Regions from separate parts of the Homo sapiens genome. Here all the other regions are linked to region 2. Evidence: promoter capture Hi-C in 16 types of primary human blood cells and fetal thymus (Javierre and others, 2016). All regions are on one chromosome and are shown on one strand. The core of a region is centred on a gene start or on the middle of the fragment in contact, and the rest is flanking DNA. Distances in the headings are between cores, read along the strand shown.

Evidence for each region. The method cuts DNA at HindIII sites, captures the fragments that hold promoters and counts their contacts. A CHiCAGO score of 5 or more calls a contact.
Region 1: a contact is called between a fragment that was not itself captured here and the fragment with the promoter of PSMD5 in region 2, in 1 of 17 cell types (naive CD8 T cells). The highest score is 5.1, in naive CD8 T cells.
Region 3: a fragment that was not itself captured here is called in contact with the fragment with the promoter of PSMD5 in region 2 in 5 of 17 cell types (monocytes, activated CD4 T cells, naive CD4 T cells and 2 more); the score reaches 6.4 in monocytes.
Region 4: a fragment that was not itself captured here is called in contact with the fragment with the promoter of PSMD5 in region 2 in 1 of 17 cell types (monocytes); the score reaches 5.2 in monocytes.

Annotation. Positions count from the first base shown.
Region 1 is chr9:120,776,989-120,779,883 of GRCh38, forward strand. FBXW2 (F-box and WD repeat domain containing 2) reads right to left here. Exons shown (of 8, transcript NM_012164.4): 4 at 1,363-1,557. Among named protein-coding and RNA genes, the nearest start is that of FBXW2, 15 kb to the right of the region's middle. The HindIII fragment of the contact is 313 bases long and covers 1,452-1,764 here.
Region 2 is chr9:120,841,418-120,844,469 of GRCh38, forward strand. It overlaps PSMD5 (proteasome 26S subunit, non-ATPase 5), which reads right to left and starts at 1,505. Exons shown (of 10, transcript NM_005047.4): 1 at 1,320-1,505. The coding sequence starts at 1,492. It also overlaps the pseudogene CUTALP. RefSeq lists enhancers at 1,126-1,655, 1,227-1,526, 1,414-1,708, 1,474-1,768, 1,727-2,076 and 1 more. The HindIII fragment of the contact is 10,742 bases long and covers 1-2,854 here.
Region 3 is chr9:120,758,522-120,761,489 of GRCh38, forward strand. It overlaps FBXW2 (F-box and WD repeat domain containing 2), which reads right to left. Exons shown (of 8, transcript NM_012164.4): 8 at 1-2,968. Among named protein-coding and RNA genes, the nearest start is that of FBXW2, 33 kb to the right of the region's middle. The HindIII fragment of the contact is 8,038 bases long and covers 1-2,968 here.
Region 4 is chr9:120,733,287-120,736,295 of GRCh38, forward strand. No RefSeq gene overlaps it. Among named protein-coding and RNA genes, the nearest start is that of MEGF9, 20 kb to the left of the region's middle. The HindIII fragment of the contact is 879 bases long and covers 833-1,711 here.

The sequences.
Region 1 (2,895 bases), core at 358-2,857, 64 kb before region 2:
ACTTCAGGGAAGAGGCGATATTGGAGATGGGCCCTAAAGGATGAGCAGAGTTTATCAAGGAAAGAAAAAAGAATACTGCAAGCAGAGGGAATAGTAAAGGTATGAAGTTAAGAAAAACCTCAGCAATGTCTAGGCAACAGTAATAAAAATTTTTAGAGCAGGGTTCTCAAAGTTGATCAGGAATAAAATCACCTGGAAGTCATGGTACATCTTAACATTGTGGAACATAACACTCAATTTAACATATACTTCCATGCATACATGCACCTTCAAATATTAATTTCTAACAAGTGGTAGCAGACAGCAAAGACTGAAGAAGAGTATATAGGAGGACAAATAAAATGAAGCAAAAAATACGTGTTTTTATTAGCCTAACGGCTAGTTTTACTTCAAAGAATCACTAAGCACCAGGTACAGTGCAAGTAACTCCAGTCACATGGGTGAACAAGACAGATAAGATCACTGTCCTTATGGAGTTTAGTCTGGTGGGGAAGCAAGATTATATTTGTATGATGAGCGGTCTACAGTAATACAAGTTACTGGGAAATAGAGGGACGCAACCTGTTAAGGGAGTTTTGGAAGGCTGCTCATAAACGTAATGCTTGACATTACAGACTATGATTCTCAGAGGCTAAAGCAGTGGGTAAATGGGGGAAAGGAAGGGAGCTGCTCAACACAAGAGGCTGGGAAATAGCTCAATTTCTACACAAAGCCTCCCCACCCCCGCCCCCGCCAAAAAAAAAGCAACAGAGAGAGAAGCTCAAATCTCAAGGCTATATTCAAATGACCAGTTTTTGCAAAATAAGGATGCTATACATTTATTAGGAAACATTCAGGTATGTTTCTTTCGCCTTATCTCTAGGTGGTAGCTTGTTTTAATCAACTGTCAACCAAGCTCAAACTGGATGTAATCTGTGTAGACCACACAATCTAAGAACCACCGTCACACCAAAGAACTTTCAGCCCTAATGCTACAAATAAAGTGGAATTTACACAAGTAGGATTTACTCAGTTCAGAGGTATGGAATCTGATAAAAGCCAAGGGACTGTCTGTTCAATAGGATATAAATGAAACAGGAGGGGGGAGAGAGAGAATGAGAGAGAGAGAGAGAAACAGAGAGAGAATGAAAACTACCCTTCCCACCAGAAGGGTACACACATAGAAGAAAGCAAGAAAAAGCAAAACTGGGTAAAACATTCGAAATAAGAGTAACTAGAATAAAGGGAAATAACTGCAATGACTAAGAAAGAGGGTTGAAAAAAGCAGGTTAAATTAAAAAAAAAAAAGCATTTCACATTCTTGGCTCCTGGCTTAAAAGGATGAGGCTAAGTTGTAAAAACCCTTGAAAAAGGGCAACCCACCCGCCCCCGTGTGCCCCCGAAAGTGCTGGGTCCTGGCTCCGGAACTCCATTCCCAGCAAGCCACAGTGTTGTCAAAGGAGCCTGTCACAAGCTTCTGTTCATCAAACTTCACCGCTGCACAAGTGTGGGTCTGGATGCCATAAACGCACTGCCCTGTGCTCACATCCCACAGCTTTGCAGACAAGTCATCTGACCCTTCAAGAGAAAAACAGGGAGGTTAATAAGAAAACAAACACACTAAAGAAGGAAAATCAATCCCAAAATCATGGTGTTCTTCAAGAACATTAACGGTCCCTTCCTCTAGCACTTTACTTTACCACTGAAGAAATCAAAGCACGGAGAGAGTAACACAACTTGCTTAGAGTCACCAAAACGGAGTCAAAAGCACTAGGACAGAATCCAAGCTTTTTGGGTGAGACACTTTCCCTTAACTTTTCAGGCTACAGAAGGTCATTAGACTAAAAGCATCCCTTGGTGCTTCCACTTGAAAAATTTCATAAATCCTTGGCTATCACGAGCTCTCTGATTTGACTTCAAATAAATAGGTATTACACATGACTGCATGTTTACACTTGCATGCTTGTCCATTACCCAACAGTTCTGAACAAATAAGGATTGTTAAATAGTAAAGGTGTTTGCTGAAATATATTCCACTCTAAGGCAAGTCAAGGACAAACCTCAGAGCCTGGGCTAACTTCTGCAAAAGCTAACTGCTAATTGCTCCAGTCATCTTGAAATACGTGAAGGAAGAAACCTCAAGGAAAACCTGGGATAAATTATCCCCAGATATTCACAACTCAACAAAAAGTTTGTAAAGCCTCTTAAGATTCTGAAGGGAAAAGTTGGCTTTATTTCTGCCTCTGATGAAAATTCTATACTAATCATGGTGACAATTCAGGACTTTGCTTTAAGTTTAAAATCCTAATGATTAATTCATTCTTACAATGACCCTTCAATAAGCCTCAACAAATAAAAAGACATTTTTGAGAATCCACTAAATACAGTCACTATGATAATGGCACAGTATCCTAGGAAAGCACCAAATGACCAGTTTTTAAAAAGCTGAAATGACTAAAGCCAGCCACAATTCTACCTTCAGTCAAGAACCACTGTTTGAGACAATGGAAAAATAGCCATCACTTATGAAAGAGCTAGAGTATGAATTTTAACCTGGGAAAACTATGATAGCATACTGAAATAAAGACTGTATTTATTGTCACTTTGCTATTTAGACTGTTTCCTTCTGTATAAAAAGAGGGGTAGGACTTGGTTGGTTCTCAATGGCCATGTGATACAACTTTATCAAAACACACAGGCAGGTCCCTATTTTCAGAGAGTTTAACTTGGGGAACATCTGAGGCAGGGTCCAATAATCTTAAAAGTTTGCCAGGTGATTCTAACTCATCAGCAATATTTTGAGAGCCAATGGTCTAGAACGGTGCTATCCAACAGAAAATATAATGCAAACTGCAGATATAATTTAAAATGTCCTAATAGTTACATTAAAAAAGAAATGTTGGGCCGGGCGCAGTG
Region 2 (3,052 bases), core at 255-2,754:
AAATACAAAAAATTAGCCGGGCGTGGTGGCGGGCGCCTGTAGTCCCAGGTACTCGGCAGGCTGAGGCAGGAGAATGGCGTGAATCAGGGAGGCGGAGGTTGCAGTGAGCCGAGATCGCGCCACTGCACTCCAACCTGGGAGACAGAGCGAGACTCGTCTGAAAACAAACAAACAAACAAAACAAAACAAAACAAAACACAGAGATCTTTCCATGTCCACATACATATATATACATCTACCTCAATAACTTAAATAACTGCACAGTGTTACAGAGTAATAGCGCATAATTTGGAATCCTCTGTTAACGGATATTTAGATTGTTTCTAGTGTTCTGGTGCCACACACGATATGTTATATTCTTGCATATAATGTTGTAGGGTCCTCCAGTCGCCCCCTTTCTTTCTCTGTCCTGATGGAAAATCAGAGTGCCTTGATTGCTCTCTGACCTAGCCAGCGGCAGGTTTCCCTAGCAGGCTTGACCATAAACCAGGGGCCTTGAACATTCACAGGCCTGATAAAGGTACCTAGGTTGTTGCCCAAAACACTGGAAGAAACTGGCCTCAACCCTGAGCCAAATTCCTTTAAACTCTCATCTGAACTCCATACCCTGACCCCCTCACTGCGGACATACCCAGGAACACCTTTCTCCCGGTGTCCGTCTTGACAATTTCTGCAGCCCTCTGCAGGTTTCCCCCTAAACGCTTTTGGACTGATCGCCTTGGCATTCAGTGCTTCTTTTTCTGTCATCCCAACCAGCCACATCTCGGGAAGGTTTGAAGCACTCCCTCGTGGGAACTCTCTTGCCGCTGCTTTTGGGGCGATTCCAGCCTCGGGTTCGAAAGAACAAAGTAACTGCACATTTTGTGCGCGTATACTTGCATTAAATTTTTTTAACAAGAATGACTGGATGAAAAAGCATGTGAATTTAAAATGCTGATGGTTCTTGCCACATTGCCAGGATAGGATCCTTTTAGAAGGGGAAACAAATCAAGAACCTGTACAAAGAGATGTGGAATGCTCCTTGTAAGTGGACAGCTTTGCTTTCCTCCTTTAATTTCTATTTGATGAAGAAGGCAGTGCCTCACTGCTCAGAGGCAGCGAGGCCAGGCGACGGGAGAAAACACCCTGGGGCACTCTCAGAGGCTGAACCTGAACCCCATCTCCTGCCTCTGAACCCAGGATCCTTCCTTCTCTGCAAATTTCGGCTACTTTCCACCTCCCCTGTGACTGGGAAAAGCGCTGTTCTTGCCCTCAACCACTCTCATGTCCATATTTAGGGGTGCCCCTCTCCTCGGCTCAAGCCCCCGGGGTCCTCTCACCTATGGTTCTCGTTAAGCAGGGAGAAGAGCGGGCCGAGGCGCAGCTCCGCCGCTTGCTGGCGAAGCTCGTTGAGCGGCACTGCCTGCAGCACGGAGTGAAGCGCGCGTAGCTCCTCCAGCGGCGCTTCCAGCCTCGCTACCTCTCTCAGCAGCGCCAAAGCCTGGGCTGCCATCTTGCCCCCCGACGCAGGGGCTGGCCCAGCGGCCCAGTTCCCGGGGCGCTTTCCTGAACCTCGCGAGATCTGATCACAGCCTCCTTGTCCCTGAGATGGCTATGGGGCTGCCAAGCCTCGCGAGAAGCCTCCGTTAGGGCCGTGTCAACTGTAGCCAGTGGTTGCGGCTCCCTCAGTCTGGCGTCATCTAGGTCGCTGCTCAGGGAAATGCGGAGGCCAGTAGGCTTACGTGTTTACCGCGTAGGGCAAAGCCTTGCCAAATTCCCGGCCAGCGGAGCGGCGAGGGTGGGGACTCACGGGAAGTTAAACAGCCTCGTCGGCGTCCTCGAGGCTCCAAAACCAGGCTCTAGGCGGGGACGACTGCAGCCGTTATGGAGGCCACCGCGGCTACGGCCGCGGCTGAGGCCTCCCCAGGTGGAGCGGTGGCCTGGAGGGGAATCTTGATCCTGGGCCAGCCACCTGTCAAGAGGAGGCGGAGCGTCATGCCTCTGGAAGACTGGATGAATATTCTCCAGGAGCCTGACGAAGGCGTGAGTAATAGGGACGTGCGCCGCCTTGTTGGTGTTGATCAGTCCACCAAGGAGAAGCAGCTGGTCGCAGTGGCCGTACCTGTAATCCCAGCGCTTTGGGAGGCCGCGGCGGGAGGATCGCTTGAGCCCGGGAGTTCGAGACCAGCCTGGGCAACATAGTGAGAAACCCGTCTCTACCAAAAAGAAAAAAAAAAAAAAAGGAAAAAAATTAGTGCGGTGTGGTGGCACGCACCTGTAGTCCCAGCTACTCGGGAGGCTGAAGCGGGAGGGTCCCCTAAGTCTAGGAGGTCGAGGCTTCAGTGAGCGGTGATTGTGCCACTGCACTCCAGCCTGGGCGACAGAGCAAGACCCTGCTTTCCCCTCTTGTCCTCCACTACCCTCAGGAAACCAAGAAAGACCAGCGTGGAGAGTTGGTCGCCCATCTGCTCTAAGCTGCTGTGTATTCCCCTGTAATGTAAACATCGTGAAGGTGGAGACCCAGTTAACCTTTTAGGTGGAAGGCCAGATGACAGAGGGCGGCATCTGACCCGGAAGGCCCTCTGCAACCAGGCCAAATACATCTACAGGGAACCAATGGGAAACATCTGGGGAGGACAACCCAAATAAGTATCATGCGAGCAAGGGATGGTTTGAGAACTTTAAAAATCGCTGCTGTTTTGCAACATACGAAGTTGATGGGGAGGAAGGACCCTTAAATCCTGAGTGGGTATCGAGTATTCCAAGCAACTGGAGAGAGGCTTTGTGCCTCAACAGGTCTTCAACGCCAAGGAGATGACCCATCTTTTGCAGTGCATGCCTTCCTACTTTTGGGGCAAAAGACAAAAATCTGGAAAGCTTAGAGGAAGCTAAGGACAGGATTTCCCTCATTTTTTTGTGGCAGTGCCTCAGGTGACAAAATGATAAAACCACTGCTGCTTTACAAAGACTCTAACACCCCACTTGTCTTTTAGAGATAAACGCCTTCCTGTTTTCTTGTAATCACACCCAGAATCACCACTGCCACTTTTTGGATTAGTTTTACAATTTTTTT
Region 3 (2,968 bases), core at 392-2,891, 83 kb before region 2:
CACAAGTGGTGAAGGCAGAAGGCAGCAGTCGGGATTTGAAGAGACTTGAAATACAGAAAGAACAGACAAACATGAAAACATGGAAAAAATCCAGGTGTGTGGGGGCTGAAAATCAGGGCTTCAGCCTCACCACTTACTATAACTCCTCTAGGCAATGAATCACTTTACCAAGCCACAGCTTTCTCATCTGTAAAACAGGAATGACAATCTGCCCTTAATGATGCTGTCAGGGGATCAAAGGTGCAGGGCCGTGGTACTCAAATGACAAGAAGCCCCGTAAGTTTAAGTTAGTAAGAAAGAACTCATGCAAAGATGTGCTGGATAGACACATCCTTGGGCAAAAGAGAGGAAGACTATTCCAAGGTCTGGAAGCAAAATGGGACTTTTACCCACCCCATCCCTTCATTTGCAACTATTCATGAAATTCACCAAAATTATTTCCTTGTGTTTTACCTTTATTGTTTTGCTTTTTGGATCACCTTCAGAAATGGTTATATTGTTGAGTTTACCTTCTAGAAGATGCAGAAACAGTAAAAAAACAGAGCCACCTCAGATCACTCAAGGGGTTGTTCTATTTTCAAAAACACACTGACTTTTGAAAAGTCCCTGCATTGGTTGGATAAAATGTCTGAAGTGGTTGGGGGGAAAGCAAGACAAAGTCTTAACTACAGAATATATTTTTAAGGAAATGCAGCTTTATTACTTTCAAGTACAAACAATAACTTGGGCTTGGCTAACCAAATTTGCCTAATTGAGGGAATCTGCTTTAATGTACAGATATAAATGATTTATAGTTAACACAATCACTCACGGGTAAAAAGAGTGCTTCTATGATGCAAGAAAATAACTTCTCATCTTAGAGACATCTTGTTCCACAATCACCCCACTATTTGCTTAAGCAACCTCTTCTTCCCCCTACCCCACACAGTTCAAATATAAACTTTATCTCATGCCCTCTAAATCACAACATACATCAAATTCGTGAAATATGAGTTGATTACTTTTTCCACATTGCTATAGATGTTGGATTGCTGACAGAACTATCTCTTCAACCTGAGCATTCTCATCAAGTATACTAAGTCTAAATCAGTGAAATATGCCTGTTCACAATCTGAGTACAAAGACACCAAAACATGAGCTTTTATCATCTGAATTACTAATTTTCCAGGGTTGAATATTAAAAACACATATTTACTTGGGCACATTTATGAAGAGTAGAAGTAGCTGAATTCTTTAGGCTGCAATAATTAAGTGGGTTTACACTGGTCAGGATTGAATTACTAAATTTAAACAACTGAACTGTTCCAGGAAAGACAAGAAACACTGAAACATCCTAACAGCAAAACAGCTTTTTGCACTGAGCGTGACCATTCAGTCTGATTAGGCTGATGGGAATGGTGCAAAGACTACTCAGTAATCCATTTGAGGATTTATTCTGAAAAAAGTTTACTTTCCTAGAGCAGGCATGGGGAACCTTTGATCAGAAACACTGCCAAAGATGGCTAATGGGCATTGTGTCAAAAAAGTGAATCTGTTCTTTTCATCAGACATTCTGAGGACAGCATAATTCTCAAGTGTCTTGGTTGTCTAAACCAAGCGAAAGCACCAGCGTAACCAGGTAGGAGGGCTGTGTCAAGAAGACGGACCTAAAGGGCTTCTCCCCTATCCTGACAACTGTGTCCACAGGCAAAGGTGACAGTATGCCCTGCCCGGACTGCATCATGAGTAGCAATCTGATTCTGCTCGCTTCCCAACAGAGAAAGGCAAGTGGCTTCATACACCAAGGCCCAGAGGAAGAGGCACAGAAAGCTATAAAAGTGATGCTGGGGCCGGGCACAGCAGCTCACGCCTGTAATCCCGGCACTTTGGGAGGTAGAGGCGGGCAGAACACGAGGTCAAGAAATCAAGACCATCCTGGCCAACATAGTGAAACCTCGTCTCTACTAAAAATACAAAAATAGCTGGGCGTGGTGGCACGCGCCTGTAGTCTCAGCTACTCAGGAGGCTGAGGCAGGAGAATCGCTTGAACCCAGGAGGCTGAGGTTGCAGTAAGCCGAGATCACGCCACTGCACTCCAGCCTGGGGATAGAGCAAGACTCTGTCTCAAAAACATACAAAAAAAACAAAACAAAACAAAAAAAACAGTGATGTTGGTAGGATTCACCTCTAGGCAATCTGGAAGCCACACAGTAACAACTTCAAGTTGCCAGCTGGGTTTGGTCAAAGAAATGTGTAAAGCCAGGATCCACTATCCTTAGCTGATTCTGTTAGATCAAAATGCCTAATACAAACAATTTCCTCATGTCTAAAATACTGTTTCCGAAAGTTATTTCTTTTGTTTTACAAATAGAGAGCAGTAATCATTTTCCTATGAATACTAGAATGATTATATAATCCTCATTCAAACCTCACACCAAGTGTTTTCAACAGCCAGAACAGAGCAATTTTTAAACTACGAAAAATGAAGTGCAAACCTTACAATTTCATAGCAATGTTCCCCACGTTTCACTCATGAACAGCTATCCAATTGCATGCACCTTCCTGCAGAACTTCTTCCAAGTCCAGTCCTTCCACTGGAGGGGCTTTCTTCCTATTTCTCCAATAGGTCTAAAATGTCAGGTTACAGTCAGATTTGGCAATGTGTATTACTTCAAATGATTGAGCTGGAGGAAACTACATTCCTTTGGAATGATGACAGAATCTATCAGAAACTTCACACATCCACTCAGCTCTCCTGGATCCCTGTCCACACCATGAAGCCTGAAGTTGTTATGATGGCCTTTATGAACCTGAAAGAAGCCGCTGGCTTCCACCACACCACAGTGTCACCCAAGAAATCCAATCCTTGTAAGAAAGGATAGGGCTTATCTTCTCATGACTTAGAATTTTTCAGAAATGAGAATATTCACAAAAGAGGGAAAGGCAATTCCCTTACCTATGCGCTAAGGAAGCCAAAGTCAGTGTGTGC
Region 4 (3,009 bases), core at 22-2,521, 110 kb before region 2:
GGTTCTAGAGTGCGTCCGGCTCTGTGTCAACTACCACTGTGCAATTCCTGCAAAGGCAGTTGAGGCGGGGGTGGAGTAGCCCTGAATAAACTGACAGCCAGAGGACTGGGATATCAGCTGAGAACGTTCCCATGGAAAAGAAAAGTCCAGCCCCTTCCAGCAAATGCTGCCTGGCTCTGCAAAGAGTGCCTTGTCATCTCATTGGCATTGCTTCTGTATTTCTTTCCTATTTCAGACCAGAAGTGAGTGCATGGAGGATCTCTGTGAGCTGGTTTTCTCTATCTTCAGGATAATCCAACCTTTAGTAACAAAAGCAGAAAAATCTATTCCTATCCTTTGGCTCCCAAGTCCACATCTAAGTGATTCGTCCTAAGGATGTATTTCCAAAATTGTTTTTAAATCTTGTTTCAGGCCAGGAGCGGTAGCTCACGCCTGTAATCCCTGCACTTTGGGAGGCTGAGGTGGGTAGATCACCTGAGGTCAGGAGTTTGAGACCAGCCTGGCCAACATGGCAAAACCCTGTCTCTGCTAAAAATACAAAATTTAGCCACGTGTGGTGGCGGACACCTGTAATCCCACCTACTCGGAAGGCTGAGGCAGGAAAATTGCTTGAACCCAGGAGGCAGAGGTTGTAGTGAGCCAAGATGATGCCATTGCACTCCAGCCTGGGCAACAGAGTGAGACTGTCTCAAAAAATAAGTAAATAAATAAATCTTTTTTTAAATAAAGGTTGCTAGTATTATGCATGATTACATAAAGTGGGGCCTACCCAGGTCCCAAATGACAGGTGGATGAGCAAACTTTGGCCCCCATTTGAAAGAATACTATGATAAGCTTAAAAATGACAAAATGAAATTCGTCAAAATATAGAAAAGTATATATGAAAGAATGTCCAGGGAAAATATTGGAAACCCAAACTGCACAAATCAATCAGTTTCTCCCTGCAGCCCTGTTGATGAAAACTGGAAGAGTTCAAGAAATAGTTATGTAAAATTTAAATAAAGTCCATGTTCTTTTTTGTGGGTATTTGTGTGCTTAAGTAATGTAAGTATCATAATCCCTAAGAAAATACTTTCTAACTTTTAAACATTGTTCACTATAAAATTATCATTCACTTTCTTCAAAAAATAATAAATTATTTTAATAATTGCTAATTGCTCTGTCTAGAGTTAGGTGGTTGGGATACAGAAGTAATTGCTTCCTGGCATTCAGGAAAGTACGGGTCTTGTTTTGACCAGGCCTCTGCCTTCCCAGGGTTACTCCAGGAATTGGGATCTAGAACAGCATATGTTTACACCCAAAGGTGGGAGATCACTTTCTCAGGCAGGACTGGTCCTGGACTAGGGAAAACTACTCATCTAGCCCAAATGACTTGTCCTTCCAAAGAAACTATTCTGCTCCCCCAACTAATAATATTAGCCATATCAAGATTCTTAGCTGCAAACAAGAAAAAATTTGCCATGGATAGTTGCATAACAATGATCATTATTATCATCACTTTTGGTGCAGTTGTTGTATGCAGGCACTGTGCTGGGCTCAATGGGAAGGGTTTTATGTGCATTATCTCTTTTTATCAACAACCTAGAAAAGAAGGCAATTACTTCCTGTTATGGATGAAGGAACTGAGGCTAAGAAAGGCTGAGAAACTTGCCCAGAGACCACAGATTTAGTAAGTGGTAGAGGAGATTTTCAAAGCTAGAGCTGACTGCCAAGCTTGAGGTCTTAACAAGCTTAGTTTCTGCAATGAAAATCCTGCTGGGCTTCAGTGAGAATCCAGCAAGCTGGTGATGCAGCCTCCATCCTTGGTGGGCCCCTACTAGCCTTAATATTTCAGGGCAGTTTCCAGGAGAGCTGGCTGGAGTCAGTGGTTGGCATCCACACGCAGCAGAGCCATGAAGCTGGCTTTCCCAGCAGCTCACATTAACTGGCAGTGGCAGCCAAGGCAGGTCAGAAGCAGAAATGCTCTCAGGGCCTCAGGAAACATCTGCAAGTCCTCAAGGAGACAAGACCTGCCCCCTTATCACCTCTTCGGGGGAGAGAGTGGGCCTATCCCATCTGCAGGGAAAGAATGAACACATTGCTTTTATTTTCCAAGGTGTGTTCCTGTAAATGAAACAATTCACTGCTATGCAACTTTTAGGATTGGCCACTTGAGAGCAGGCCTTGTACTGGACAATGGGGTGGCAGTCCTGAAATCAGAGCCACCACCTGCCTGCCAGGGCTTGTGGGGCAAGGGTGAAGATGGTGACAAGTGACAAGCAGTATTTGCAATTCAAAGTGAATGGTGCAAGGAAAAGGGGATGTGGTGTAAGGGGGAGAGTATGAACTTTGGAGTCAGAAAGTTCTGTTTCTTCATGTCCTGGTTGTGAGACTTTGGGCAAATTTCCTAACATCTCGAGGTTGTTTCCTCATCTGGAAGAAATGTAAATAGTTATACTTGTATTGCATAATTACCATGAACATTAAAAGGTACAAGTATATCAATACTTAAAATTGCCTAGCAGATAATGGGAGCTCAATAAATGATAACATTACTAGTGTTATTAAAAAGGCTCAGTTGGAGGATCTATAAATGGTGTTGTTGAAAAGAAAACAGAAGGGACATATTAGCTGGGTTTTGATGGGGAAGTAGGAGTTTGTTGACTAGCTGGTAGGCAGGAAGGGTTTTCTAGTTAGCAACTTAGCAAGGACAGCTTTGTGAAGGAGCATGGAACATCCAGGCAACATGAGTGGACCAGTTAGGAGCTACTGAAATATTCCCATCAAAATACAGGGGCGTACCCCTGGGGCAAGATGACTCTCTGACGTCCACTTACTACTATTCTCAAATAAAGGACCATGAACAACCTCTCCGTGTAAATTCATAAACCAGCATTCTTGTTAGCTACGCTTCCTGAAATGGAGCAGCCTCCAGGCCCATGGCCTGACAATCCACAGGGAACAAACAAAGCTGAGAATCAGATTCCAAGAGCCCACGCTCTTCCTTCTCTGGAGTTAGACAGGCTTGAG